Regions from separate parts of the Homo sapiens genome. Here all the other regions are linked to region 3. The links are contacts of gene promoters, found by promoter capture Hi-C in blood cells and fetal thymus (Javierre and others, 2016). All regions are on one chromosome and are shown on one strand. Each heading gives the region's core, a stretch centred on a gene start or on the middle of the fragment in contact. The rest is flanking DNA. Distances are from core to core; before and after follow the strand shown. Region 1 overlaps PIK3AP1 (phosphoinositide-3-kinase adaptor protein 1). Region 2 overlaps PIK3AP1 (phosphoinositide-3-kinase adaptor protein 1). Region 3 holds the start of LCOR (ligand dependent nuclear receptor corepressor). Region 4 overlaps PIK3AP1 (phosphoinositide-3-kinase adaptor protein 1). Region 5 overlaps PIK3AP1 (phosphoinositide-3-kinase adaptor protein 1). Region 6 overlaps PIK3AP1 (phosphoinositide-3-kinase adaptor protein 1).

What was found. Contacts are between HindIII fragments. The CHiCAGO score rates a contact against its expected background, and 5 or more counts as called.
Region 1: a fragment that was not itself captured here is called in contact with the fragment with the promoter of LCOR in region 3 in 4 of 17 cell types (total B cells, naive B cells, total CD8 T cells and 1 more); the score reaches 8.1 in total B cells.
Region 2: a contact is called between a fragment that was not itself captured here and the fragment with the promoter of LCOR in region 3, in 4 of 17 cell types (naive B cells, neutrophils, total B cells and 1 more). The highest score is 7.6, in naive B cells.
Region 4: a contact is called between a fragment that was not itself captured here and the fragment with the promoter of LCOR in region 3, in 12 of 17 cell types (naive B cells, total B cells, neutrophils and 9 more). The highest score is 22.0, in naive B cells.
Region 5: a fragment that was not itself captured here is called in contact with the fragment with the promoter of LCOR in region 3 in 2 of 17 cell types (neutrophils and total B cells); the score reaches 6.4 in neutrophils.
Region 6: a fragment that was not itself captured here is called in contact with the fragment with the promoter of LCOR in region 3 in 4 of 17 cell types (neutrophils, total B cells, naive B cells and 1 more); the score reaches 6.0 in neutrophils.

The regions. Positions count from the first base shown.
Region 1 is chr10:96,598,580-96,602,698 of GRCh38, forward strand. It overlaps PIK3AP1 (phosphoinositide-3-kinase adaptor protein 1), which reads right to left. Exons shown (of 17, transcript NM_152309.3): 16 at 3,701-3,819. The region is part of intron 2 of LOC105378443 (a long non-coding RNA gene); the gene reads left to right. Among named protein-coding and RNA genes, the nearest start is that of TM9SF3, 14 kb to the left of the region's middle. The HindIII fragment of the contact is 318 bases long and covers 1,885-2,202 here.
Region 2 is chr10:96,652,640-96,656,572 of GRCh38, forward strand. It overlaps PIK3AP1 (phosphoinositide-3-kinase adaptor protein 1), which reads right to left. Exons shown (of 17, transcript NM_152309.3): 4 at 59-203. Among named protein-coding and RNA genes, the nearest start is that of PIK3AP1, 66 kb to the right of the region's middle. The HindIII fragment of the contact is 449 bases long and covers 1,341-1,789 here.
Region 3 is chr10:96,829,619-96,833,749 of GRCh38, forward strand. It overlaps LCOR (ligand dependent nuclear receptor corepressor), which reads left to right and starts at 2,680. Exons shown (of 8, transcript NM_001346516.2): 1 at 2,680-2,781; 2 at 3,788-3,861. It overlaps LOC102723665 (a long non-coding RNA gene), which reads right to left and starts at 2,840. Exons shown (of 1, transcript NR_135921.1): 1 at 1,014-2,840. RefSeq lists a cis regulatory region at 1,028-1,227, silencers at 2,263-2,562, 2,583-2,632, 2,643-3,362, 3,403-3,462, 3,503-3,742 and enhancers at 2,489-3,203, 3,204-3,919, 3,920-4,131. The HindIII fragment of the contact is 14,888 bases long and covers 1-4,131 here.
Region 4 is chr10:96,635,547-96,640,067 of GRCh38, forward strand. All of the region lies in intron 8 of PIK3AP1 (phosphoinositide-3-kinase adaptor protein 1), which reads right to left. Among named protein-coding and RNA genes, the nearest start is that of TM9SF3, 51 kb to the left of the region's middle. The HindIII fragment of the contact is 2,021 bases long and covers 1,290-3,310 here.
Region 5 is chr10:96,615,536-96,619,940 of GRCh38, forward strand. PIK3AP1 (phosphoinositide-3-kinase adaptor protein 1) reads right to left here. Exons shown (of 17, transcript NM_152309.3): 13 at 1,104-1,176. It also overlaps the pseudogene RNA5SP324. Among named protein-coding and RNA genes, the nearest start is that of TM9SF3, 31 kb to the left of the region's middle. The HindIII fragment of the contact is 537 bases long and covers 2,409-2,945 here.
Region 6 is chr10:96,673,720-96,678,226 of GRCh38, forward strand. All of the region lies in intron 2 of PIK3AP1 (phosphoinositide-3-kinase adaptor protein 1), which reads right to left. Among named protein-coding and RNA genes, the nearest start is that of PIK3AP1, 45 kb to the right of the region's middle. RefSeq lists enhancers at 33-102, 233-302. The HindIII fragment of the contact is 4,185 bases long and covers 1,083-4,507 here.

The sequences.
Region 1 (4,119 bases), core at 794-3,293, 230 kb before region 3:
GGTGTCTCACAGGTTCGCCATTCATTGAGGAGACACATCTACACAAGGGTCGCAACACAGAGTGTATTATTAGAGTATAGAATATAATAGAAGTGCTTGGGAAACCAAAAGAAGATTCACTCGCATGGGAACATTAGGGAGGGCTTCACAGAGGAGGTGATGTTTGAACTGAGTCCTAAAGGATGTATAGGAATTTTCTAAGCAAGAGTAGAAGGGAGTAGGAAGACAGCATTCCAGGCAAAAGGAACAGATTGGGCAAAGAAACAGTACAGAGTGGCAGAGCTCACTGGGAATGCTGAAGTGGCAGATCATCGGTGAATACAGGAGAGGGGCAGGACTTGAGCTAGGCAGAGCCAAAGAATGCTGAAATACACAGAATTAAACGTGAAGGCTTTTATGCCAGGCAATGGCATCATCAGCTATTCCTGTTCTAGAAAGGGCACTCTGGCTGCAATGTGGAGGAGGGAGTGACTGGAGGAAGGGAGGTAAGTGTGGGCCTTCAAGAATGAACTTAGGCACTAGCAGATGGAAAGGAGGGCGGATCTGACAGCTGAAAGAGCAGCAGAACGGACAGAGCATGAAGACACACTGGATATGAGAGCTGTGAGGGGGGCAGGGATCAAGGATGACTCCCAGGTTTGGGGCTTGGGGAAGGGAGAGAATGGTCCCACTATCTCAGGCTGGGAACTCATGAGAAGAAGGCAGTTTGGGGTAGAGAATGGTAGGTGGGCTGATGAGTTCAGTTTTGCACAGGCTATGTTTGAGATATTGGTGGGGTCCCTGAATGAAGATCCCCAGTCAACTGCAGGAAAGAGAAGGCTGAGATGGAGATGGAGACTTGGGGTCTTTGTCTGCTGGTGGCAATTCAAGCTCTGGGATAGCATGTAGAGTGAGCAGAGGCAAGGACCAGAACCGGGATGGAGTGGGATGGAGGCTGTACTACCAGTGCTGTTTGGTTTGGGCCAGGGGTTAGCAGGGAGGTTAGAACACGGGCAGAGAAGAGATGCTGATGCCCAGATCTGACAGTGGAGTCTAGGACACCAAGGCCAGCCTTCAATCCTGTCTATAAGCAGGTCAAACATTGAAGTCATTCTGGAGAGAGTCCCATTTTATTATCTGCTCAAATATCCCCGTATTTTATTGTGAACATTGCATACTCACACATCTTTTTTCACACCAAAAATGCACCCAAACCCCAAGTTCTATCAATTACAAACTGCTTCGTAAACATTGTTTCTTTAGCAAAAAATGTTTTCCTCCTTTTCTCTCCCCATCTCTATCACAACTTGCTTCCAGACTCCCCAAACAACTCAACCACCATCTCTTTTTACACATTTACATGCTTCCTAGTTTCTATCCTTTAATTTTTGGAACCTGTTTCCCCGGTTGTCTTCTCTTTCTCTTCTGTTAACAAAATCCCACCGAAACCTTGTAGCTAAAGTTTTAAACTTGACAACTCTTTTATCTTGGTACAATTAGACAACTGCTTCCAAAGTCCTCACCTTCAGGAATAAAAGGCCTTGGATCTTGAACCTCCTCCCCTAATACTGAGACTTTCTTGGAGAGGTATAAAACAATGCCTATGAGATGAAGTCTGGCAGGTTTGCCACACACAGCAAGTCTCAGCCCAATCTCAAGCCCCAGTTTCTACATCTGCAAAATGGGATAACACTAAATACCTACGTCTTAGGATTGTGGAGAGAATTAAACAGGATAATGCATTTAGTATGTTTAACGGAATACCTGCCACATAGTAAGTCTCAATAAATAACAGCATTTATCACCATCACTGCTCTTGGTAAGCCCTCCAATCACCAACTATGTGATAATTTTCAAGCAACAGAGCACAGTGCAAATTCAGGGGATGGGACTAGATTACTGCTAAGCTTCCTTCCAGGACTAATATTCTAATCCGTGCCTTCCAGTCTACACCAGGAAAGCATGCCCGGTGGGTGTGGCACAGCCTGGGCCTGGGCGATGTTTGAGTAGCAAGTGCCAACACACAAATGTTGCTGGGAGCGCATGAGAAAGTGATAAATAGCAAAGGGAGAAATGGAAAGATCCTTAGCACAGAGCCAGCCTCTCTTTCCAGAACACCAGAAGAAAGACCTCCTTGTTGCACTTTCTCAACAAATTCCACTGATGAGCTTCATCTAAAAGTTTCAAAATGCAAAAATCAAAACAAAACCCTGGTTGAAGAAAAGCTTCCTCCTTCCTTATGCCCCATTAACACATGAACATTTTATTTTAAACATCGAAGAGTTAACTCCTCAGACAAGCCTTGGCTTTTATTCCCAAGGGCTCCTTTCTGCATCTGTGGACACACAGCTAGCTGTGACCACTTTTTCCGTTACTCCACAAGACTGAACCATAAAAAGGTTCCTACCAGAGGCCCAAGTATCATATAAACAAAGGCATACATCAAAATCTAGTAAATTAGTCAAATTCTTTAGTCTAATGCTCATCTCCAAATCTCTAGATATTAACTCCTCTCCTGTATAAAAAAAAAGATCACTTATATTGCTGAGTTCTCACTATAGGCCAAGAACTCAATGCTTATGATTCTGCAGAAAGTTCTGTTATTATCCTCATTTTATAGACAAGGAAATTGAGGCTGGGCATGGTGGCTCATGTCTGTAATCCCAGCACTTTGGGAGGCTGAGGCGAGCAGATTACCTGAAGTCAGGAGTTCGAGGCCAGCCTAGTCAAAATGGCGAAACCCTGTCTCTACTAAAAACACAAAAATTAGCCAGGCGTGGTGGCAGGTACCTGTAATCCCAGCTACTCGGAAGGCTGAGGCAGGAGAATCACTTGAACCCAGGAGGCGGAGGTTGCAGTGAGCCGAGATCACACCACTGCACTCCAGCCTGGGTAACAGAACAAGAATCTATCTCAAAAAAAAAAAAAAAAAAAAGGAAATTGAAATACATGAAAGTTAAATAGTTCTTGCAAGTTTGCAAATAGCTGCTGGAGACTTGACCCCAGGTAGGGGGGCTCTAGAGTCAGGCTTCCCACCACCATACGATGTAGCCTGTCACCTGCATTTTCATTTCCAATTCCTTCATATTTTCTGTTCCCCAAAAGGCACTGTCCCTACAGTCCAGCCAAGGGAATTAGTTATTGGAGAGTTGAATTCTAGCCAAACTGATAAAAACAATTTTAAAAGTTGACATTTTTCAATGTATTTCATTTATGAAACATTGCATTTGCTATTTAAAGTATTTGCAACTAAATAATGCATCACTTAAATTAATGAAGGGTCCACATTGAAATGTGTCCAATGGAGTAGGCATTTCAATTAGCTCTGTACTTATTCTTTTTTTTGAGACAGTTTCTCTCTGTCACCCAGGCTAGAGTGCAGTGGCATGATCTCGGCTCACTGCAACCTCTGCCTCCCGGGTTCAAGCAATTCTCCTGCCTAAGCCTTCTGAGTGGCTGGGACTACAGGCGTGTGCCATCATGCTCGGCTAATTTTTTGTATTTTTAGTAGAGATGGGGTATCACCATGTTAGCCAGGATGGTCTTGATCTCTGGACCCTGTGATCCGCCCGCCTTGGCCTCCCAAAGTGCTGGGATTACAGGCATGAGCCACTGCGCCCAGCTCTGCGCTTATTCTTTAGTCATCTTAGGTGTTTCCAAGTCCTATTCTCCCCTAGGATTCAGAGATAAGGGAAAAATTTCATATCAGTTTTGATGTTACCTCTGTGAGGCAGCTCTCGGAGGCACCCTGGGGGGTCTCTCGAGGGACATGGTGGGTGTCCCATCCACTTGTGGGGGGCCTGGACTGCGACTTCTGGTAACCTCAGGGACTTCATTATCCTACAGCAAAGAAGATGAGAAAGAAAGGCGAAAACTACATTCAGCAACCAGCATAGCTGGACAACCGTAACTCAAAAGCCCCTTGGTCCTCCTTAGGCTGGGGCTGAAGGTTGTTTGCAAATTGATAATCAACCCAGCCATACCTGGCAGCTTTCCATTTCTTCCTGAAGTCACTGAGGCACTGAGGAAGACAATCTGGCCCCAATGATCATTAATTGCCTGAATTCTAATTCCTTGCTACTCAAAGTGTGCTCTGTGGCCGGTCAGCATCAGCATCAGGTGGAAGCTTATTAGAAATGC
Region 2 (3,933 bases), core at 315-2,814, 180 kb before region 3:
CAGCATAGCAAATAAGCAATGAAGCCCTATGTCATCACATTCACAGGGGACTACTTACTGGGAGCCTTCACTGAAATGGTGTACTCATTCTCCACCTTGGCTTCCATCCTTACAGAGGGAGAATCCTCAGGAGAAAACTCTGCTTCTGTCGCCACCCTGTCATCCAGCTTACATCTCACAATAACATAGACAGTGGTTTCTGCCTGAAACGGGAAGCCGGTCATTGTCCCCTCTCCCTCTCAGATCCCCGTAGGGTGTTGGGCCCAAGGGTCTCCCCAGCTCTCTTGCCCTAGCTCTACCTAGTGAGAATCTCTGGGGACAGGGTGGACTCAGTGGTCCAGTGCTGGGCAGTGAACTGTTTGCTACCAGTCCCAACGAGACAAGTCACAAAAACCAAGAGTAAATATTTATAGCAATTGGATGGAGTCATTTTATGTCTGTTGAAGCTGATAATAATAATAACAATAATAATAATAATAAAACTTAGCTGGGCGCGGTGGCTCACGCCTGTAATCTCAACGCTTTGGGAGGCCGAGGTGGGTGGATCACAAGGTAAGGAGTTTGAGACCAGCCTGGCCAACATGGTGAAACCCCGCCTCTACTAAAAATACAAAAATTAGCCAGGAGTGGTGGTGGGTGCCTGTAGTTCCAGTTACTCAAGAGGCTGAGGCAGGAGAATCACTTGAACCCAGGAGGCAGAGGTTGCAGTGAACCAAGATCACACCACTGCACTCCAGCCTGGGCAACAGAGGCAAGGCTCTGTCTCAAAAAAAAAAAAAAACACACACACACACAAAACAAAACAAACAAAAAAAACCTTAAGGCCGATACTTTATACACTTTTTTTTTTTTTTTTTTTTTTTTTGAGACAGAGCTTCACTCTGTCACCCAGGCTGCAGTGCAGTGGTATGACCTCAGCTCACTGCAACCTCCACCTTCCCAGGTTCAAGCGATTCTCATGCCTCAGCCTCCCTAGTAGCTGAGATTACAGACACCTGCCACCACACCCGGCAAATTTTTCTCTGTTTAGTAGAGACAGGGTTTCACCATATTGGCCAGGCTGGTCTCGAACTCCTGACCTCAGGTGATCTGTCTGCCTTGGCCTCCCAAAGTGCTGGGATTACAGGCGTGAACCACCGCGCCTGGCCATTTATATGTCTTTTGATTTCATTTTGCATAGCATTTCTGTTGCATTGTTTTTAATGAAATCATTGGTCCATTTCAGAATTGGACATCTTTTTAGAAGTCCTTCGCCACAGATAGCTTGAGAAGCCCTGCTCTGGACCAGTCCTGCTACTCAAGGCGGAGCCAAGGGAGCAGCAGCATCAGCATCCCCCAGAAGCTTGTTAGAAATGCAGAGTCTCAGGCCCCTCCTGGCCCCACTGAGCCAGAGTCTGCATCATAACAAGATGCCCAGGTGACACCCGTGCACTTTGCAGCCTGAGAGAAGCCCTCCTGGGCTCTGCTCTTCATGCAGTCCTGGATTTTACCACTGGGCAAAAAGAACTTCTCGGGGGATTAATTTTCCCAAACCATCGAGCGCCTCGAATAGCTCTTTTAGCTTGCTTTAAGATCTCACACTAAGCCTGCCAAATGGACTGACTCTGCTGTGCTGGTTACGTGGGGGGAATGAGCCTCTCAGTCTGAACTGGTGAGGGCAGGCTCTCCAAAAAACATGGGGAAAGGAGAGATTCCTGGCCATAGCGAATCCCCAGATATTCCTCCTAAGACTCTGCTATAAAGTCCTCAGATTAGCCCTTCATGACAAGGGCCATGAGAGGGTGTGGCAAGCTTGGACTTTATGACACGTGATGTGGGGGGTGATCCTGGCTCCTGGGGCTGCTGAGGCTGCACACACATGTGCTGTGGTGGTCGTCCCTCCTGCTGCAGGCCCAGCCTTGTCCCACCTACACCTTCTGCCAGGGAGCATGAGGAGCCAATGAGAATGTGTGTCTCCTCTACTGACAGTCAGGACCAAACCCCGGCCTGCCCCTTCCCCTCTCCCCAGGATCCAGAAGCCTGAAATCGGCAACAAGAATCCTGGGATAACAGGCAGTCAAGATAGGAGAAGGAATGAGAGCCTGGAAAAATCACAGAGGAGAGTGAAGGAGATAATGCTTTGGTGGCAACCCCCTTTACCCATGGGCACCCAACAGCCTGACCAGAGGGGCATGGGGAAAGCAGAAAGTGGCATGGGAAGATTTAAAATGGAAATGTCCACAAAGGCATGGCCAGTAAGGCAAAGGAGTGAGATAGGCCTTGTATAAAGAACAGGGACTGTGGGGACCCGCCAACTGGGGGATGCATGGCCCATGTACAGGGTTGCTTGGCCCCCGCCAGTCATCTCAGGCCTAATATGACCAGATTCTGATTCAAAGGAAGCTGGAAACACAGATTTTTATGCCTAACTTTTTAAAATAAAATAGAAAAATAAAGATGGGAGTCTCACCATGTTGCCCAGGCTGGTCTCAAACTCCTGAGCTCAAGGGATCCACCCGCCTCGGCCTCCCAAAGTCTTGGGATTACAGGTGTAAGCCATTGTGCCCAGCCAATGCCTAACTTTTAAAATACTATGCAGTCTAGACCAGGCATGGTGACACATGTCTGTAATCCCATCATTTTGTGGGGCTGAGGTGAATGGATCACTTGAGGCCAGGAGTTTGAGGCCAACCTGGCCAACATGGAGAAACCTCGTCTCTACTAAAAATACAAAAAAAATTAGCCAGGCATGGTGGTGTGTGCCTGTAATCCCAGCTACTTGGGAGGCTGAGGCACAAGAATTGCTTGAATCTGGGAGGCAGAGGTTGCAGCGAGCTGAGATCTCACCACTACACTCCAGCCTGGATGAGAGAGACAGACTCTGTCTCAAAAAATAAATAAATAAACACTGTGCAGTCCAAACCAAACATGTCTGATATGGTTTGGCTATGTCCCCACCCAAATCTCATCTTGAATTGTAACTCCCACAATTCCCAGTGAGAGGAACCTGGTGGGAGGTGATTGAATTATGGGGGGGCGGGTCTTTCCTGTGCTGTTCTCATGATAGTGAATAAGTTTCATGAGCTCTGATGGTTTTAAAAAGAGGAGTTCCCCTGCACAAGTTATCTCTCTCTTTGCCTGCTGCCATCCATGTAAGACATGCCTTTCCTCCTCCTTGCCTTCTGCTATGATTGTGAGGCCCCCTTAGCCATGTAGAACAGTAAGTCCAATTAAATCTCTTTCTTTTGTAAATTTCCCAGTCTCAGGTATGTCTTTATCAGTAGCGTGAAAACAGACTAATACAATGACTATCAGTTAAATCTGGCCCAAAGAAACAGTTGGCAACCCCACGTAGGAAGTGCTTGCCCAATGCCTCACGGCCTCAGCCTGCACAAAACCACCCACAAGGGTGAGGAAGCCAGTGCTGCCCACTGCCAAGGCTCCCACGCTGTCTCGCCTCAAGGAGCCTGCAAAGCCATCTTAGCAAAGAGCTTGTATCCATAAAGGAAGCATTCTGCTGCTCTGAACTATCATAAATGCCACACGTTTTTAATTAGGAAAGGAAAAATAAAGAAAAACCATCAGTACTAAGGTAGGATTCAAATGGCAGTGGCTCATCAGTTGGGCCCTCACACTCAAGTCATCTGTAATGTATGCCCCACCCCTGAAAATGCTAGTCATATGATGTATGGCATTTATCTGATCCCTTTAAAAAGCAATATTGGCCAGTTGGTTTCAGCCGTCAAGCTTCAAGGCACTTCCTTGGGCCATGGCAGTGGCCAGTGATGGAGAAGCAAGCTGTCAGATGCCCAAGATGCATTTCCTTCCTCCCAGCACTAGGCTACCAGGAAGAGACACAGGCCTCTAACTTTAGGGTTAGCGTTAGTGTCTGGAATGCTCCTGTCTGCTGGTCTCCTAGGTGCTCTACGTTATTACTGATCCATAGAACAGAAG
Region 3 (4,131 bases), core at 1,430-3,929:
TGTCCAACTGCTTAACTGTGCTCGGAACATGTCATGTAGAGTTAAGTGAATCCTCCAGTTGCAGAGTCTATTTTCTACTTGTAAGACTATTTATTTATTTACTTATTATTTATTTATTTATCAAGATGGAGTCTCAGCTCTGTCGCCCAGGCTGGAGTGCAGTGGCACGATCTCGGCTCACTGCCACCTCCACTTCCTGGGTTCAACGGATTCTCCTGCCTCAGCCTCTTGAGTAGCTGGGATTACAGGTGCCCACCACCATGCCTAGCTAATTTTTGTATTTTTAGTGGAGACGGGGTTTCACCATGTTGGCCAGGCTGGTCTTGAACTCCTGACCTCAAGTGATCTGCCCACTTCAGCCTCCCAAAGTGCAGAGATTACAGGCGTGAGCCACCGCGCCAAGCCAACTTTCTACTTGTAAGACAATTTAGAGGGGTTTAGAGTCACAGAGATCTTAGTTAGAATTTGGTAGCTATGTGATCTTGACAAATGTATTTAACTCATCTGAGTCTTGTGTCCCTAACTTGGAAAATGTGGTAAATATATACTCATAGCATTATTATCTGGATGGAATGAAACAATGATAAACATATAATAGGTGCTCAATGAATATTAGCTGTTACTATTGCCTCCCTATCCTTTCTTCCAAATAGGTCTTTGTGATAGGTCAACCATGAGTTAGTTCCCAACTCAAAATAAGTGAAGCAGAAATTGGAACTCAGAGTAGAGTAGTAAAACTAGCATTAAATTGGAAATTGGGAAACTTGTCTCCTGGCTTTTGTTGCCCTTTCTCTACCCAGCAACTATGTAATCTTGGTCAAATCACCTTACTTGTCTGGGCTTCCAATTTCATATCTTAAGTTACAAAATTGATCTCTGAAGCCTCTAGGATTCTCTGAATCCATATGTCTGGGACTAAGAGATTATGTCGAGGAATTATTACCCTTGGTTTGATTGTTTTTTAAACAAATTAACTTGGGGTGGTTGGAAAACACATTGATTATTTACTCATCTTAGAGTTACACGTTGTTCATTTATTTGAAACTGAAACGTATTTCCTCCAAACACCGTAGAAACTTAAAGGCCGCAAAAGACTCACACCCACCACCTAGCGGCGAAAAAAGGAAGTTTCAGGTGATACAAGATGTCCTGCCATCACACCTGAAGGATGGTTGTCCACAGCCATTTTTTAAAATCTCGTATTAGTCCTCTTCCTTCAACACTCAGGACAGTATTATGTACCCAGAAACTCAATACTTCCTGGCGTCTTCATTTGACAATACTCTTAAGCCAATGAAATCCTGTGGGACGTTTGCGAATTTTATAAAGATCAATGTTTTAAGATTGGCGGGGTGGGCTGGGAGTGGTGGGGGGGAAGGTGCCTTCCTACCCTTGCATTTGCATCTCAAGCCACCCGTACCCGAGGCCCACCCAGTCCATCTGTTCATTGGTAGATACACCATTCCGCCATTCCGCCAGTGGCTGGTGCAGAGAACCAGGACCACCACCTTTGAAAAGACCTAAATCAATACTCCAATGGGATCCTGATGTCAAGTATTTAACGACTTTGCTTTACCTACTACAGTAATTAAAATTAAGTCTTCAAACTTAAATTTAAATTTCTAAAAGCAGGAATGCACTGTCCTTAATCTTAAACACCAAAGGTGGGAGAAAGAGGCCAGAATCCTAGGGTACTAGGCCTACTGGTATAGGGCGATCTCTTCTGCTTTTTTCTTTCCACCCCATTTCTTTTCCCTTTCTCCTTTCGTTTCCCATCTTCTCTCTTCTCGTTCTCTTCGAAGTAACAGTGACAAAATTAAGGTGATTCAATTATTCCAAGAGGCTTGCTCATATAAAATATTTCTCTTCAAGCCCTTTCCTGAAATCCCAAATTAAAGCATTTCCAATAGTCTCTGCTTTAAGTATTCCTAGTTAAGTCTACTTTTGGAAATATTAAATATTCTCACTTTGGCACAATATTCCAAAATTCCTTGAGAAGTTCGCCTACGATCAGTCTTGCTAGTAGAAACCTTTTTTTTTTTTTATTTAAAACGCTCGATTTCCACTTTTTACTAGGTTTCCCAATGTTGGCGATGTCTCCCAATGACTTAATAACGTGTATCCACTTCACCTTTGAAAATCTTAGAGGTCAGTGCATCCACCGGCATCCGGGAATTTATTCTTATTTCTGCTTCTTAAACAGGCTCTGGGGAGGAGCAGTTTCGACGGAGAAGTTCATAGCAGCAGTTATTACGGAACTTGCAACAGTTGGTGCCGGGCGATAGGCAGGTTGGAAGTGATAAATGGGGCTGGCGTAAAAAACAAAAAGCCCCGGGGAGGGCGGGGGCAGCCGTGGCCTTGGGGGACAGTGCGAAGGCGGCGCGGGGCCAGCGGGACTGACTTCCGGCTGTGGGAAGGCGCCGTCCCGGGCGGCCAGAGGCGGCGGCAGCCGCGTAGAAGGACGGCGGGATCGCAGCCCGGCGGGCGGCGCGCGGGGCGGGTGAGCGGGCCCAGGCCGCCCCCGGGCCACGCCGGGGCCACGGTGAGGTGAGGCCGGCCCTGCCCCCGCACCGCCCCCGGCAGGAGGCGCGACGCCCGGGCCGCGGGTGCGTGCGCGGCCCCGGGCGACGCGGCTGGGCGTGCGCGGGGCCGCGGCGGAGGCTGGGCCGGGCGGGCGGCAGAAGATGGCGAGGGTGTGTAGGCGGCAGCAATGCTCCGTTGAGAGACGCGGCTTTCGGCAAGAACTGGATTCGTGGCGCCACAAGCTCATTCACTGTGTAGGTGAGACCCTCCGCCGACCGCCGCCGCCCCTCCGGCCGCCCCGCCGCCGGTCGCCCCAGACCAGGGAGGAAGCTGGGGAAGTGGCAATTGCTGCTCCGGCCCGCCCGCCCTCTTTGGCTCGAGCGTCCCCCCTTCCCCCACCCCCCGGAGTGTGAGCGCGCGCGACCTCCAGGCGGGCTCCCCTGCTCGGCCGAGCGCGCGCCGGCCCCTCCCCTCCGCGCGCCTCCCCGGGGCTGGCTCTCGGCGGGAGCGCGGGTTCCTCCCCCTCCCGCTCTCCATCCCCGCCTGCTCGCTCCCCTCCCTCCCCGCTCCCGCCCCTGCTCCCGCTCCAGGCCCGGCGCCCCGGCGCCGCCGCCGGCTTATTGTGGCGACTCGCCTCGCGGCGCTGCCGCTGTACTGGGGGAGGCGCGAGGGGCGCGGGCGTGCTCGGCCCCCACCCGCGCTGTGGCCGCCGCCGTCCTCCTCCTGCGCCACCCCTCCCCCACGCGCGGGGCGCGCCCCCGGGTCTGCGTGCACGCGCGGCGGGCTGCAGGCGGGCGCCCGGCGCTCGGGCGTGTGCGAAGCGTGAGGTGGAGATGGGGGCGGAGGGAGCTGGAGCTGTCACAGTCCCCGGGTGCGCCTGACCGAGCCAAGTGGGGTGTCATGGCCGCGGGGGGCAGCGGCTGCACTTCCTCAGCGGGCGGCGGTGGCCGGGGAGTTAATCCTCGACGCACGGGTCGGTGTGTGCGTATTTGTGTTCGGTGTCGTGCTGCGGGAGGAGGGGGTGGGACCGGGTCCGACCGAGGAGCCCCGGCGGGGGTCGCTCTCGTCCCCTCCCGGGGATTGGCCGGAGCCGCAGCCTCGCCCGAATGCCCCGTCCGCCCCCCGCCTCCCGGACCTTGGGCCGCCCTCGGGTGGCTTTTTCCCTGCGGGCCGGAGGGAGCGCGGACGGGGGCGCCCCGGGAGGGGCCGGGCGGCCGAGCTGCGCCTCTCACACTGTGTGTTTTGTCTGTTTTTCTCTCCCAAGGTCCCGTTTCCCTCTGTGCGGCGGCCGGCGGGACCATAAGGGCTTAACTCATATATTTAACCCCCCTCCAAAAAGTAAGTGGCCCGTGTGGTGTCTCCGCTCCGCCCGCCGCCCCCTAGCCCCAGTCCATCCTTGTGTCTGACTCTCCTGTCCTCCAGCATTGTTACTTCCCCGTCTTTGCTTCGGTGCTGCTGGTGTGTGGGGAGATGCCCTCTCGTCGTCCGCTGTCCCCCACGCCCAGTCCTCGGGGAGGCCCAGAATTCCAGCCCCTTCTCCCCCAGGGGAATATTCTTGGGAACCAGGTCTTTCCCGGCAGAATCTAGGAGAGTCTATCCGTTCGCTTG
Region 4 (4,521 bases), core at 1,050-3,549, 190 kb before region 3:
CAATCATAGCATTCTTTCTGTCCTTTTCAACACAGCACCCAGGCACTCAATACTGGCCAACTGGGGCCAGTATTTATTACAGGTGCGCTGACTCATGTCTGTAATCCCAGCACTTTGGGAGGCCAAGACAGGAGGATCACCTGACGTCAGGAGTTCAAGACTAGCCTGGCCAACATGGCAAAACCCCATTTCTACTAAAAATACAAAAATTAGCTGGGTGTGGTGGTGGGCGCCTGTGGTCCCAGCCACTTGGGAGGCTGAGGCAGGAGAATTGCTTGAACCCAGGAGACAGAGGTTGCAGTGAGCTGAGATTGCACGACGGCACTCCAGCCTGGGCAACAGAGCGAGACTCCATCTCAAAAAAAGAAAAAGAAAACTAGGCCGGGCACGGTGGCTCACGCCTGTAATCCCAGCACTTTGGGAGGCCGAGGGGGGTGGATCATGAGGTCAGGAGTTTGAGACCAGCCTGGCCAACATGGTAAAACCCCGTCTCTACTAAAAACAAACAACAACAACAACAAAATTAGCCAGGCGTGGTGGCGTGCACCAGTAATCTCAGCTAAAGAGAGGATAGGCAGGAAAACTGCTTGAACCCGGGAGGCAGAGGTTGCAGTGAGCCAAGATTGTGCCACTGCACTCTAGTCTGGGTGACAGAGCAAGACTCCGTCTCAGAAAAAATAAATAAATAAATAAAATAATACAAAAATTAAAAAAAATTATAAAAGAAAAAAATACTGGCCAACTGGCCTTGGCATGTGAAATTATTTTTAAAATGCTCTTTTCCATACCTAATTAGGCACTAAGTCCTGGTAGTAGCACATATTATCTTTGTAATAACACTTTTTTAAAAGGTACCTGGTTACCTGGAGTTAATGAGTGATAAAACCCTCTCAGGCTCTAAATATGACAACCCCACATGTACACATAACCCGGGCATACAGTGAACTACACAGAAAACTCTGTTAAGTGAAGGGAGTCTGTTTCTAGACAAAGAGCATTTTGGGAGGGAAATCAGAACAAATCCCTGCATTCCTGGATGCTCAGGGCTTGTACTTCAGATCCCAAGCACTTAAACTTCATGACTTGCAAATTAAAAATAAACCAACATGTACTGAAACCTGCCGGTCTGAGGAGAAAGTGCAAAGTTCTTTCATTTCAGCAAAGAAAAACAACAACAATGATAAGGAGACTCTGGGGCCACAGCCTCCTTCTGGAAAAGCCAGCTATAGAGTCACACTGCACTGTACTTGAGGAGTCAGCCAGAAAGAACCCACTCCTGGAATGCAAGAAGCTTGAACAGTGAGAGAACACCCAGGCAGGCACTTAATTAAAGAATGAATCAACAGCAATAGTGAATTCTCAAAGACACCCATATGATACTCCTCCTGGGACACAGACCACTTAGCTGCAGTGGAAACTCCATCCAGATTATATGCTGTTAATTTAATAGAAAACCAAGTGAGTATATAACACAGTGAAATGTCAGCTACTGAAAGACTATTCTTCTAGAAAGGCTTTCAAACCCTGAAAGTAGGCCAAAAGAATTTTTTTCTCCAGCAAGAATCTTTTGTGGCCAAAAAGAGAGCCTTAGAGCAAGGAGCATCGTAGCCAAACATTTGAAGAGAACCTGGAACACAATGGGTCAGTTTGCCTCCAGGTAGAATGGTTTGACTGACCATGTCAGTAAGAAAGTCTAGCTTTTCTGTACCCTAAAGAATTAATGGGATGGAAGAAAGAGGGAGAGGAAGATGTGGGAGAGATATACAATCACACACACACACACACACACACACACACACACACACACACACTCTGTGATAGTTATTTTATTTTTTGATTCAGGGTCCCACTCTGTCACCCAGGCTGGAGTGCAGTGGTGCAATCACGGCCCACTGCAGCCTTGATTTCCCAGGCGATCCTCCCACCTGAGCCTCCTTAACTACAGGCATGCACCACCATGCCTGGCTAATTTAAAAAAAATTTTTTAGAAGTGGGTTTTCGCCATGTTGCCCAGGCTGATCTTGAACTACTATACTCAAGCGATCTGCCCACTTTGGCCTCCCAAAGTGCTGAGATTACAGGCATGAGCCACCATGCGTGGCCTATGATGGTCAATTTTGGGTGCCAAATTGACTATATTAGGAAATACCTAGAGTGAGGGTGTTTCCAGAAAAGGAGCATGCGAGTAGAAAAGATCCACCCTCAAGGTAGGCAGGCATCATCTAATCAGCTGAGGGCCCTAATAGAGCAAAAACAGACAAAAGGCAAACTGGTCTCTCCCCAGGGGCTGGCATACACTGCCATACACTCTTCTACTCCTGGTTGGACATCAAACTCCAGGCTCTCCACCCTTTGGACTACAGGACATACACTAGCTGCTCTCCCCTTGGGTTCTCAGGCTTTCGAGCTCAGACTGAGAGTTACACAATCAGCTTCCTGGTTCTGAGGCCTTTGGGCTACGTACTTTGGACTTCTGAGTTGATGCTGGAACGAGTTAAGAGTTTTGGGGCAACTGGAATGGAATGAATGTATTTTGCATGTGAGAAGGACACAAATTTTGGAGGCTAGGAGCAGAGTGCCATGATTTGAATGTGTGCCCCAAAATTTCATGTGTTGGAAACTTAATCCCTCCATCCTCATGAATGGATTAATGTTGCTATCGTGAGAGTGGGTTTGTTATCACAGGAGTAGCTTTGTTGTAATAGCAAGACCTCTCTGGCTCTCCTGCTCTTGCCCTTTTGCCATGTGAATACTTTCCACAATGTTATGATGCACAAGATGCCAGCACCATGCTCTTGGACTTCCCAGCCTCCAGAATTGTGAGCTAAATAAACTTATTTTCTTTACAAATTACCCAGTCCATGGTGTTCTGTTATGGCAACAGAAAACGGACTAAGACACACACACAGACACACACACACACAGACACACACACACACACACACACACACGAATAGCAGTGTAAAATTAGAGGGCTAATGAGTGATGGCTGGCATTGGCAATGAAGAAGGGGCTGCGGATAAATAGTTTAGGAGAAGCTGCAAACAAGTTCTGTGGTTTTCTTATGCAGACAAATGCCTCAGTACAGTACCCCTGGCAAGCACAAAGACCCTCTGCCATGCAGGAGTGAGTCTATGGGATGCATTTGTGGTGCTGTGCAGTGAGTCGCACGCGGTAGCCCACCTGAACACAGTCCCACCTGCATTCTCAAAGCAGTGTCTTTTTCCTCCACAGCACTGTCACAGTTTGTGGTTATATATTCAGTTATGTGGTGTTTTTGTTTAATATTCAGCTCTCTCACTAGAATGTAAGCTTTGAAAGGCAAGTTTCATGCCAGCTTGTTTACTGACTCATCATCACCTGGCACAGCGTGATTTAAACACATGAGAGGTTTGAAAAATATTTTTGAATGAATGAATGAACGAACTAATAAAGGAAAAACAAATGAACACATGAATATGAAGGCATTTGGGCTTTGTGAAGGAATCTGGGCATTTCTCAAGCCGAGAAAAGAGAAAGGCAATTTAGGCAGAAGGAAGAGTCAAATGCAAGGGAACATGAAAGAAAAGGCAGCTTGTAGTGACCAATGGAGTTACTGCCACCCTGAGATGTCTCACACTCGGGGACACCTAACAGATGTCTCAGTACCACCTATCAGGTGGGTGAGGTCTTTACACTGGAATACTGACACACTATTCCACCCACAAAGTCGAGAATTACATCTTATTTTCTGGTAGCTCAAATTCAAGAAATCGCTGAACACCTATTGTGTACAGCACTGGGATAGGCACTGTGGATGATACAAAGCTGTAAGACATGCTTCCTATCGAGGCCAGGAGAGGGTAACCAGAGAAGCACGTATATAACTAGAGCCCAAGGGGATGTGTGTGCAGTGTCCCAAGGTAAGCGTGACCTGCAAGCTGTGCAGGTTCAGAGGGGAGCAAGGTTGCTGCTGTCGATGGGGATTTTATCTTTAAATGTTAAAACATTCAATCCAGTGTGCTTTCACTAAGTCCCTATGTCCCCAACATAGTTCTTGTATTTATGGAGGAGCAAAAAGCAACAGGAAGTCAAGAGGTACACTGAGCTCATCTCCCTGCTCCCCAGTGGGTTCTGTCCTTGCAGGTAAGAACTCATGCTGTGCACCCAGGCCCACGGGCCTTGAAGCATCTCTTGGCTCTACTCGCCAGAATCTTGCCAAAAGGGATGGCAGGAGGATGACAGAGCCTCAGCAGTCACAGGGAGGGAGGCTCCTGAGAGAAAAGGATGCAGATAGGAGAGACAGTATGTTTCATAAGCAAACCAGTAATGTAGTCATTTTGCATACAAATTGTCCTTCAGTTGGTTTCAGACCTACAGGGCTGGGCTGTGAGGTCCTTTACAGTCCCCAAGTGTGCCCCCAGCTCAGATGGAACCCAGCTTGCAGAGAGGGGCTGTAATCAGAGAGCTCAGGTAAAGAAAACACTGCTGGAAATGATCTGTTACAAAGATGCCAGTTACCAGGGAGGTTGCTAAGGGAAG
Region 5 (4,405 bases), core at 1,427-3,926, 210 kb before region 3:
CTGATGGCTTGGATGAAGGAATGAGGTGATAGCAACCAGAGACAGAAAAAGAGAAGTGCCAGATGAATGGAAGGGGTGGGAGGTCCCACATATACTTGAATGAGGAAGGAATACCATGGCCTAGAGTGGTCCAGGAAGGTGTTACTGAGAAGGGGCTGCCAGGGCTGGGTCTTGCAGCCCAGTAGTTTTCATACAGGTGAGAAAGAAGAGGCATGGCATGAGCAAGGGGTCCACGGCAGGAGAGAATGTCCCATTTGGACACCAGGGTGTTACCAGCCCAACTAGGTTCATGGGAAGTCAGGCAGCTGATGGCAGCTGGAGAGAGACCGTGGAAGCTGTGCACAAACAGGGCTAGATTTTAACTTGGTTCTTCATGTAATAGGGCTCCATTCAAGATCTGAGTGCCTCTGAAAGCCTTCTCCTGCATGCTCCTCTTGCTATAAGGCTGGCCTCGGTTAATCACAGAGGCCCACTATGCCAGAGGCTCTCTGTGGGAAGATGCATTGTGGGTAAACGCCAACTTCTTGCTCAAGGGTGGTGATGCCACATGGCTGGCACAGGGGTAGGCTTAAGGGGAGCGGGGGCCCAGTCCATAGTGTGCACCACTGGAATTTGTGGCCCTGCTATTGCACCATGGAAGCCCTGCTACACCTGGGGCATGGGCTTCTGAAGCACTGTATGGTGTGGATGCAGATGACGCCATTGCTCACCAGAATCAGAAATAGACACTGGGTAAATGGGATTTTCTCCTTTCTCTGCTTAAAAAACATAAGTCCTCCTAATTGCCAAGGGGAGAGTCAGATGTCTGCAGAGGAAGTATCACCATCCTATTTGAGTGAAAAGGTGGAAGCATGCAGAGTTGAATCCACTTATTCACTTCCGGGCATGTCTTATGTACCAGGTACCAGATTGTTTACAGAATAAATAAGATATAACCATTGTCCAAAAGGCCTTTACAGTCTAGTGGGGGACCCAGATCTGTAAACAGTATGACGAGTGCTGGGCAAGTGGTCTGCCCACTCAGGCCACAGCCAAAAGGAGAGTCAAGGACAACAGATGACAGCAATGTCCCACACAATGCAGCACCCTAGGAAGCCACATACCTGTCTGCTTTCCTGATTTTTGCTTCTCTCTCTGTCTTCGGGTGATGCTGTCTCTTAGCCGTTTAAGATTTTCCTGGAAAAAAATTTGGTTTATTTTTTAAGTGTACAACAGGATGATACCCTCTGGACATGAGAGTTTCTTTCAGATTGTATGCTGTTTGCAGGGTATATCACATTGCAGTCACATTTACAACATGCAAATGAGGCTCAGCGCATTCACAGTCAGCCCCCAGAGAAATCCAAATACTCACAGAATCTGTGCCTGAAGAGAAGACATCTCTTCCACAAGAAAGTGTCTTTCCTCCCCTCTGGTTCTCAGCTCTGTTCTATATGACCCCTCTCATGTATGCCTCTTAGCCCAGCTCACAAATACTCCACAGGTATTCCTGTCTCTGAGACTGTGTTCTCACATCACTCCCCTGACCTTCATGGATGTTGGTTCTTCTCCATGAGTCTGGATCAAGGCCCACTTTCTCCCTGAAGCCTCCCCAGATATGCCAACCATCCAGCACTTGGGCTATGCTGCTCCATCATGTGTGCACACTCTTGTGCCTTGCCTCTTTGAGATACTGTGAGCTCTTCAAGGTCAAGAGACCACGTCGTGTACCTTTCCATAATCCTGCCATCTGGCCCATTGTAGTCATTCAATAAATGTTGAATAGACATGTAAGGGTCAAGATTGTTGCTATTTTAGTCAATTAACAATAACGCCGAAGTTAAGTGCCTGAGCATTCTAGGGAAAATGTCCAGACAATCTGGCTGGAGCAGAAGGTTCATGTTGGGGAGTCACAGGAGGCCAAACTGGAAAGGGGGGTTGGTCTGCAGCTGCAGGCTGAAGAGACTCACCTGTGTCCAGGAGACAGCAGGGAAACACTGAACACTGTGAGCTTGTCATGGATTTAAGGTTCTAGTGAACTAGAGAAGAAGGAACAGAGGCCAGCAGACCTTCCTGGAGACTATGGAGTATGCCAGATGCAGGCAACAGAAGCTGACATGGGGATGTGGCTGGGGGAATGGAGAGACAGGAGCAGATGCAAGAGGACAAATGCCGCAGAGCAGGACCAAGCAGGACACACCGCTGACTGGGTGAGCGGAAGCACGGGAGAAGGCCAAAGAGACTCTGAGGTCTGATCTCCCTCTCCTCTGTGATGAGCACAGAGAGGCTGTTGGGAAAGGAAAGCGGCCTTGAGGGATGGTTTGTTGTTAGACATGCTGTGAGCCTGGGGCACTCAGGGGGACAAAGCCAACTGGGGCTGGAAACATGGAACTGGAGACACAGACTGCACAGAGAAGGAGCTGAAGGAAAGCTTCAATGTCCATTGTGAGAGGGTGACGTGAAGGAGACAGAGGAGTGGACAGAGAGGCAGAGGAAAAGGAAGATGAGGCCTCCACCCAGGAATGTCTCCACACCACCAGCCCCTGAAGGGGAGATGCTCAGGAAGTGGCTAGAGGCTCTCAGGGAACCAAACAATGTGAGCCCCCATGAGCTGGGATTCTGCCGTATTAAATATAAACCCGTCGTCTGCTATGCCCAAGAGTTCTGGACCAGCTCATGGGAAGGGAAGAGGTCTCTTGGATAGAAACACAGAAAGACATGGCACATGTATACCTATGTAAAAAACCTGCACGTTGTGCACATGTACCCTAGAACTTAAAGTATAACAACAACAACGATAACAAAAAAACCATACTTGGAAAGGATTTACCTTTCTGCAACAATGGACTGGTACATACAGGATGATGGTAATGATAAGACACGTAAATTATGTTCCCACTGGAAACCTGCCCTGTCCACCCCTTCTCATTTCCCTTAACCTTATCCTCAAACTACTTTAGCTGAGAAGCTTTCCAGCAGACTGAGTTAGTGGTGGCTTATACCTATTTATATTTGTATTAATTGCTTACAGATTATACCTCATATTAGCAATTACCTTACACTACAAGAAAATGTAAAAAAAAAAAAAAAGAAAAAAAGAAAGAGAGCTAACATTTATTATGTATTTACTACGTACCAGTTATGCTGCTTACAGTAGCTTATATCACCTAGTCCTCCCCTTTCATATGAGGCACAGCAAGGTCAAGGTCATCAAATAGCAGAATAAAGATGTAAATTCAGGCTGCCAGCTCTAGAGCCCTGGCTGTTCTTAACTACTGTGCCACGTGGTTGCACAACTTGGCAAGGAGCAAAAAAACATTGTTTAGCCAGGGCCAGCCTTTTCTCAGCAGGACTGCAGCCTCCCAGGGGCTCCTGAGTGAAAAGCACCCGTGATTCCTGCATTCAGCTCTCCAGAGTGCCCTCCCACCCTTCAGGCCCCAAAAGGGAGGGAGGCAGCTGGCAGAGCAGGTGCCCCTGTCTTAAGGAGCACTAAAAAGGCAGAAGGCATAGTGAAGGGAGCACAGGCTCTGGGGTGAGAAAGGGGAGGTTTGAACCTTGACTGCCTCTTCGCCTCTCTGAGCCTCAGTTTTCTGTAGAACAGGAGGAGTAATACTTATTTCATATGCGTGTATGAGGAGTGAAAGAGATCAGGTCTATTTAACGCTGAGCACAATGCCTAACATAGCACTGTCGGAGGTCAGCAAATGCGGCCTGATGACATGCTTCCCCACTCTTCACCACTAATCCTGTCCCAGAAGACAGGCTCCTATCTCAGCCCTGGACGGGTGCTGCTTACTCCCCGCCTTGACAGCTGGTATGTCAGATAGCGTAAGAACAGAGATTAGAATACACACCACCAGGGTCTATAGCCATAACACCCTGAACGCGCCCAATCCCATCTGATCTCTGAGGGTAAGCAGGGTCGGGCCTGGCTAGTACTTTGAAGGAAGCAGCCTGGGGAGGTGGAGAGAGAAAGCAATAGTTCCAGTCCTGACTCGGCCCCTCACTAGGAAAGATGCCTTGGACGTGTCCCTTAACCTCCTGAGCCCCATTTCCTCCTTTTTAATACAAAGGCATTGGTGGACTAAGAATGAGCTTCCTAAGGTTAAGTTTGAGTTCTTTTTTTGTTTTTAATTATACATCATGTACACTTATGATACAGGTATGGAGTTATATATTCTCATAAAAGCTTCAAACTATACAGGTAGAGCAAGAGTCTCCTCTGACACCCCAGTCCTCCAATCCCAGTCTTCTCCTGAGAGGTGGCCCCTGGAATGGGCCCGAAGTGGCCGTTTCCAGATCTTTGTCCTTGCATTTATATACATGTCCATAGAAATACAGAGTTTGTGTGTGGACGTGTCTGAGTTGTTTTAATTTGGGTGGTTTTGTATCTGCAACTTGTTTTGTTCATTTAATCATATTTCTT
Region 6 (4,507 bases), core at 1,925-4,424, 160 kb before region 3:
GGCTTTGTCTGGGGCAGGCCACATAAATGTGATTTATTTTCACTAAGTCAAGAACTGAGAGGCTGAAGGCAACTCTTGACAATAACTAAGCTGAAGAAATTGAGAGTAAAATTTCTTCCCTTTTGTCTGTCTCCCACTCAATGGTCAAAGTCCCAGGAAAGGCTGAAACGGTGTTTACTTTCCCCCACTTAGGCTGACCCTTCGCATTCCGACCAGCTGAAAGGATGGAACTGGCTGGTCAGTTTCACTTTCCACTTTCAGGAAGGGTAACTTTCTGTTCTCATCCCTCACCGTGAAAGGCTGCATCTGGCTTTGTGGCTTGGTCAAGGCTGGGTGGAGGTGGGGGTGTGATGCTTCTTGGCGAAGGGCTTAAAGAAATATGAAACAAGATGGCATTCCAAATTCTGCATAAATATAGGCCAAAATTAAAACTCCTTTAACCCAGGAGTTGCTGGCCTTAGTGGTCCAATATTAAAATCAGGGCTATTAAGGCCAAGACTCTAAAGATATTCTACAGTATTTCCTAGCAGCACAAACGCAATTACTAACAGATTCTGGAAAAGCACATTCAGCTAAGCCACAGAAGACCTGGATTCAAGTCCCATCTCTGCCACTTCCTGGGTAATCTTGATATTTCTAAGCTTCAATTTCCTCTCCTTTAAGATGGATTTATTTATGCCTGCCTGGTTTGTTGCACAGGCTTATTGGAATTAAGTGATCAACATGCAGAAGCCCTTTGAAAACTGAAAAGTGCAAGACAAAGTTAAATCAATTAGTGTTGTTTATCTGTTGACCAAATTTTTCTTCTACTAGACTGTGATTTCTCTGAGAACAGATTTCCTGACATTCATTCATCTTTGTATCCCCAGGGCTTAGAATATAGTGAGAAATCAATAAATACTTCTTGCATGAATGGATGAATCGATGAATGAGATAAGACCAACCACCTAAGTTACTAGCAGGGAAAGCAACACCTCAGGGAGGACCACTGTAAGGCTTTGTGCCTGGAGGCTTTTAGTGTGGAATCTGGAGAGAAACAGGAAACTGTTTAACCCTCTAATTTATGATACCAGCGTGAACCAAGCTTCGCTGAAAATTCTGCATGGTACACTGTGTTAGTCCCAGTCTTCCGAGAAACAAAAGCTAAAATGAGATTAAACATACAAGGTGTTTTGTTTTGTTTTGTTTTTTGAGACGGAGTCTCACTCTGTCGCCCAGGCTGGAATGCAGTTCTGCAATCACGGTTCACTGCAACCTCCACCTCCTGGGTTCAAGCAATTCTCCTGCCACAGCCTCCTGAGTAGATGGGATTACAGGCATGTGTCACCACGCCCAGCTAATTGTTGTATTTTTAGCAGAGATGGGTTTTCACCATGTTGACCAGGCTGGCCTTGAACCCCTGACCTCAGGTGATCTGCCTGCCTCAGCCACCCAAAGCGCTAGGATTACAGGTGTGAGCCACTGCACCCGGCCATATAAGGATTTTGTCAGGGAAAGTGCCTGGGAAGGAAAATGGGGAGGGAGGGTGGGAAAACCTTGTAGCTGTCTGAGCCCAAATGAATAAGAGGGGGAAGGAAGGTTGGGTGGAAGCGTCCTAGACCACTGAGCAGGCTAAGGAAAGTTGTGCAAATCTGTCACGGAGTCTTCAAACAGAAGTTGGCCACTGGCAAATCTTGCGTCTTCCGGAAATGGGCCTAGTATCCCTGCCATGCTCAGTTATTGACTGGGAGCAGCCTGCAGGAAGCAGGGCCTTGGTCGAAAGCTATGATGGATTCAGAGGGTGGCACAGGAGCCCTTGGTCGGTTCTACTCCCAGCAACTGGAGATCTGCCAGGCATATTCTCATGGCCACCACATACATGGCAGTGCTTCAAAGCATGGAGTTTAGGGTCCATGTAAATGAATTGAGTCCCTGCTATTACTGGATGGCTATCTTGGGCAAGTTACTTGATCTCCTAAAGCCTCATTTTCCTTATTTATAAAATAGAGATTATAATTCCTACCTCTCAGGACTGTTATTGTTGAACACTGTGTCTGCCACATAGTAAGTGCTCAATAAAAGGAAGCTGTCATTTCTCTGTTAATATTAATAACAATAATAATAATTTATTATTCACAAAGTACTTCTATTAGCAGTTAGGACCTAAGAACAGCCCCCACTGTTGCATACTCGTATTAGAATTGTATAAGGCCATCATAGGGACGTGGGACATGGCCTAAAACCATAGTTTGGCAGTATCACAATTCAAACAACCAAACCAGTTTGCCTACAAATGAAAGGTCAGAGGGACTTTCCCAGTTTGGCTCTTTCCATGAGGGGTTGCCAGGGTGGGTTGCATTGTGCCAGAATCTACCTACAACCACAACTCCTCTCCTGTCTTCTGTTTGCCGTGGTTCACTGGCAGTGTCCTCAGCCTGTCCCATGCCAGCTGTGAAGCCACATCTGTGTCTGAAAGCAAGCATTCTCAGGAACTTTCACCCCAAGAACAGGATCATCCTCAGGCTCTGAGAGACAAGACTCTGCTATGCTGTATCCATTGTAAGCACCTATCTCAGGACTCTTTGCTTGTCTTTATCTGTGTGACCTTGCTTTTTTTTTTTTTTTTTTGACTTTGGCCAACTGATAGTGGTCATTGCTGGCTACTGCTGGCCGGTGGCCCCTACATCTTACCAGAGTCACAGAGTGTCCCCTTGTTGGGCTGGCTATGACCCGAGGTCATTACAGATTTCATGGCCCCAACTGAGCCAGCTCGGGCCTCTCCCAGCCTTGCTGATCCTCAGGTCTTAGTGACAGAAATGACCAAGAATCCAGACATAAGGAACTCCAGACACATGGAAGCCAGGCTCTTACCTCTTTCACTGTTGCCTTAGAGGCCTTTTTTCCAACTCCCTTTTCCAAGAAGGTCACCAAAAACACACACGGGGATTTTCTGGGGTTTTTTTTTTTTTTTTTTGAAAGAATGACCTTGAGTTATTCCAACTGAAAGAGTCCAAATTAAACTTAAAAACATTGATTTTGTTTAATAATTAACAGCTTACAAAGCTGGTCAAGTTGTATCTTCCAGAATAATCATCTCCATTCCACAGGGACTTCTTTTCTAGGGAGTTTTAAGTTTCCGTATTGAGCTGGAATCTAACCCTTGAGCTGCCGGTGTCAACCTGAGATTGGACAGCATAGGGCACAGACTCAAGGACGGACTGAACCCTCCCAACCAAGCCAAACTAGGCCTTTCCATCTGAGGAAAGAGGGGGTCATGCTGGGGTGGAGGGAAAGCCTCAGGGCAGGAGAACAGGCCGCCCACTCTTCACACAGCCTCCAGCAGGAGCACCGAGCCCATCTCTGAACACGGTTTGTTTTTCTCCACTGGTCCTCCAAGCCAGAGTGAGGAAGGGCTGAGCCCACCTGATGCCAGACATGCCCAGTGTTTGAGAGGGGGAACTGCCATCATCAGGGAGAAACACCGATTCAGCCATCTTCTGCCCCCGTGACACATAAAAGTATTGGCAAACTCAGTAACTAGCCTCAACACAACACCTTCTTTTGCCTCTTGTTTGCATTTATCCTTCCCACCAATTGAAAAACCAATCATGTTTGGTTTCTTTGCAAATCCAAATTCTTTAAGAAATGATACCCTGAAGTAAAACTTGGGCGTTCTCACACTCATATCCCGAGGTCAACTGTTCAAAAACCCACCATTCACCACTTGGCCTTGGGTGAGCCACTTCCCCTGGCAGAGTCCAGTTGTCTTCCTCTGTATTAAGACAGAGTGGAAAATAACTATGTGATTTCTGAGGGTCTGTCCTGCCCCGATGCTCTTTAAGTCCACTGGCCTTGCTAACTACCTCCTCACTAAGCACATACACACACACACACACACACACACACACACACACACACACACACACACAAAAGGCCTTTGACCTTCTGTAAACATTTATCTCCAACAAACACAGTTTGGTCACGTGCAATACAAGATATGAAGTGAGACAACACACTTTCCGGTTTAGAATCACAAGCGTGAGGACAAAACATGGTTTTCACTGTTCATTTAGGTACAGTTATAGAAACCACTGGAAACCTAATCAACATTGGGATCAGGATCAAGAAGAATCTGTCCCAGGGGTTCTCATCACCTCAGAGGGAGGTGAGAGTTTTTGCAAAGGTCTTGCCAGAATGATGAATTAGAATAGAGAAATTGTGTAGCTTTTAGAAGCATAGCCAATATTATATTACAATTTTATTTATTTATTTATTTTTAGAGACAAAGTCTTGCTTGCTCTATTGCCAAAACTGGAGTGTAGTGGTGTGATCATGGCTCACTGCAGCCTCGACCTCCTGGGCTCAAATGATCCTCCTACCTCAGCCTCCCGAGTAGTTAGGACTACAGGCATATGCCACCACATCCAGCTAATTTAAATTAAAAAAAATTGTAGGCTGGGCACAGTGGTTCATGCCTGTAATCCCAGCACTTTGGGAGGCCGAAGTGGGCAGATCATCTGAGGTCAGG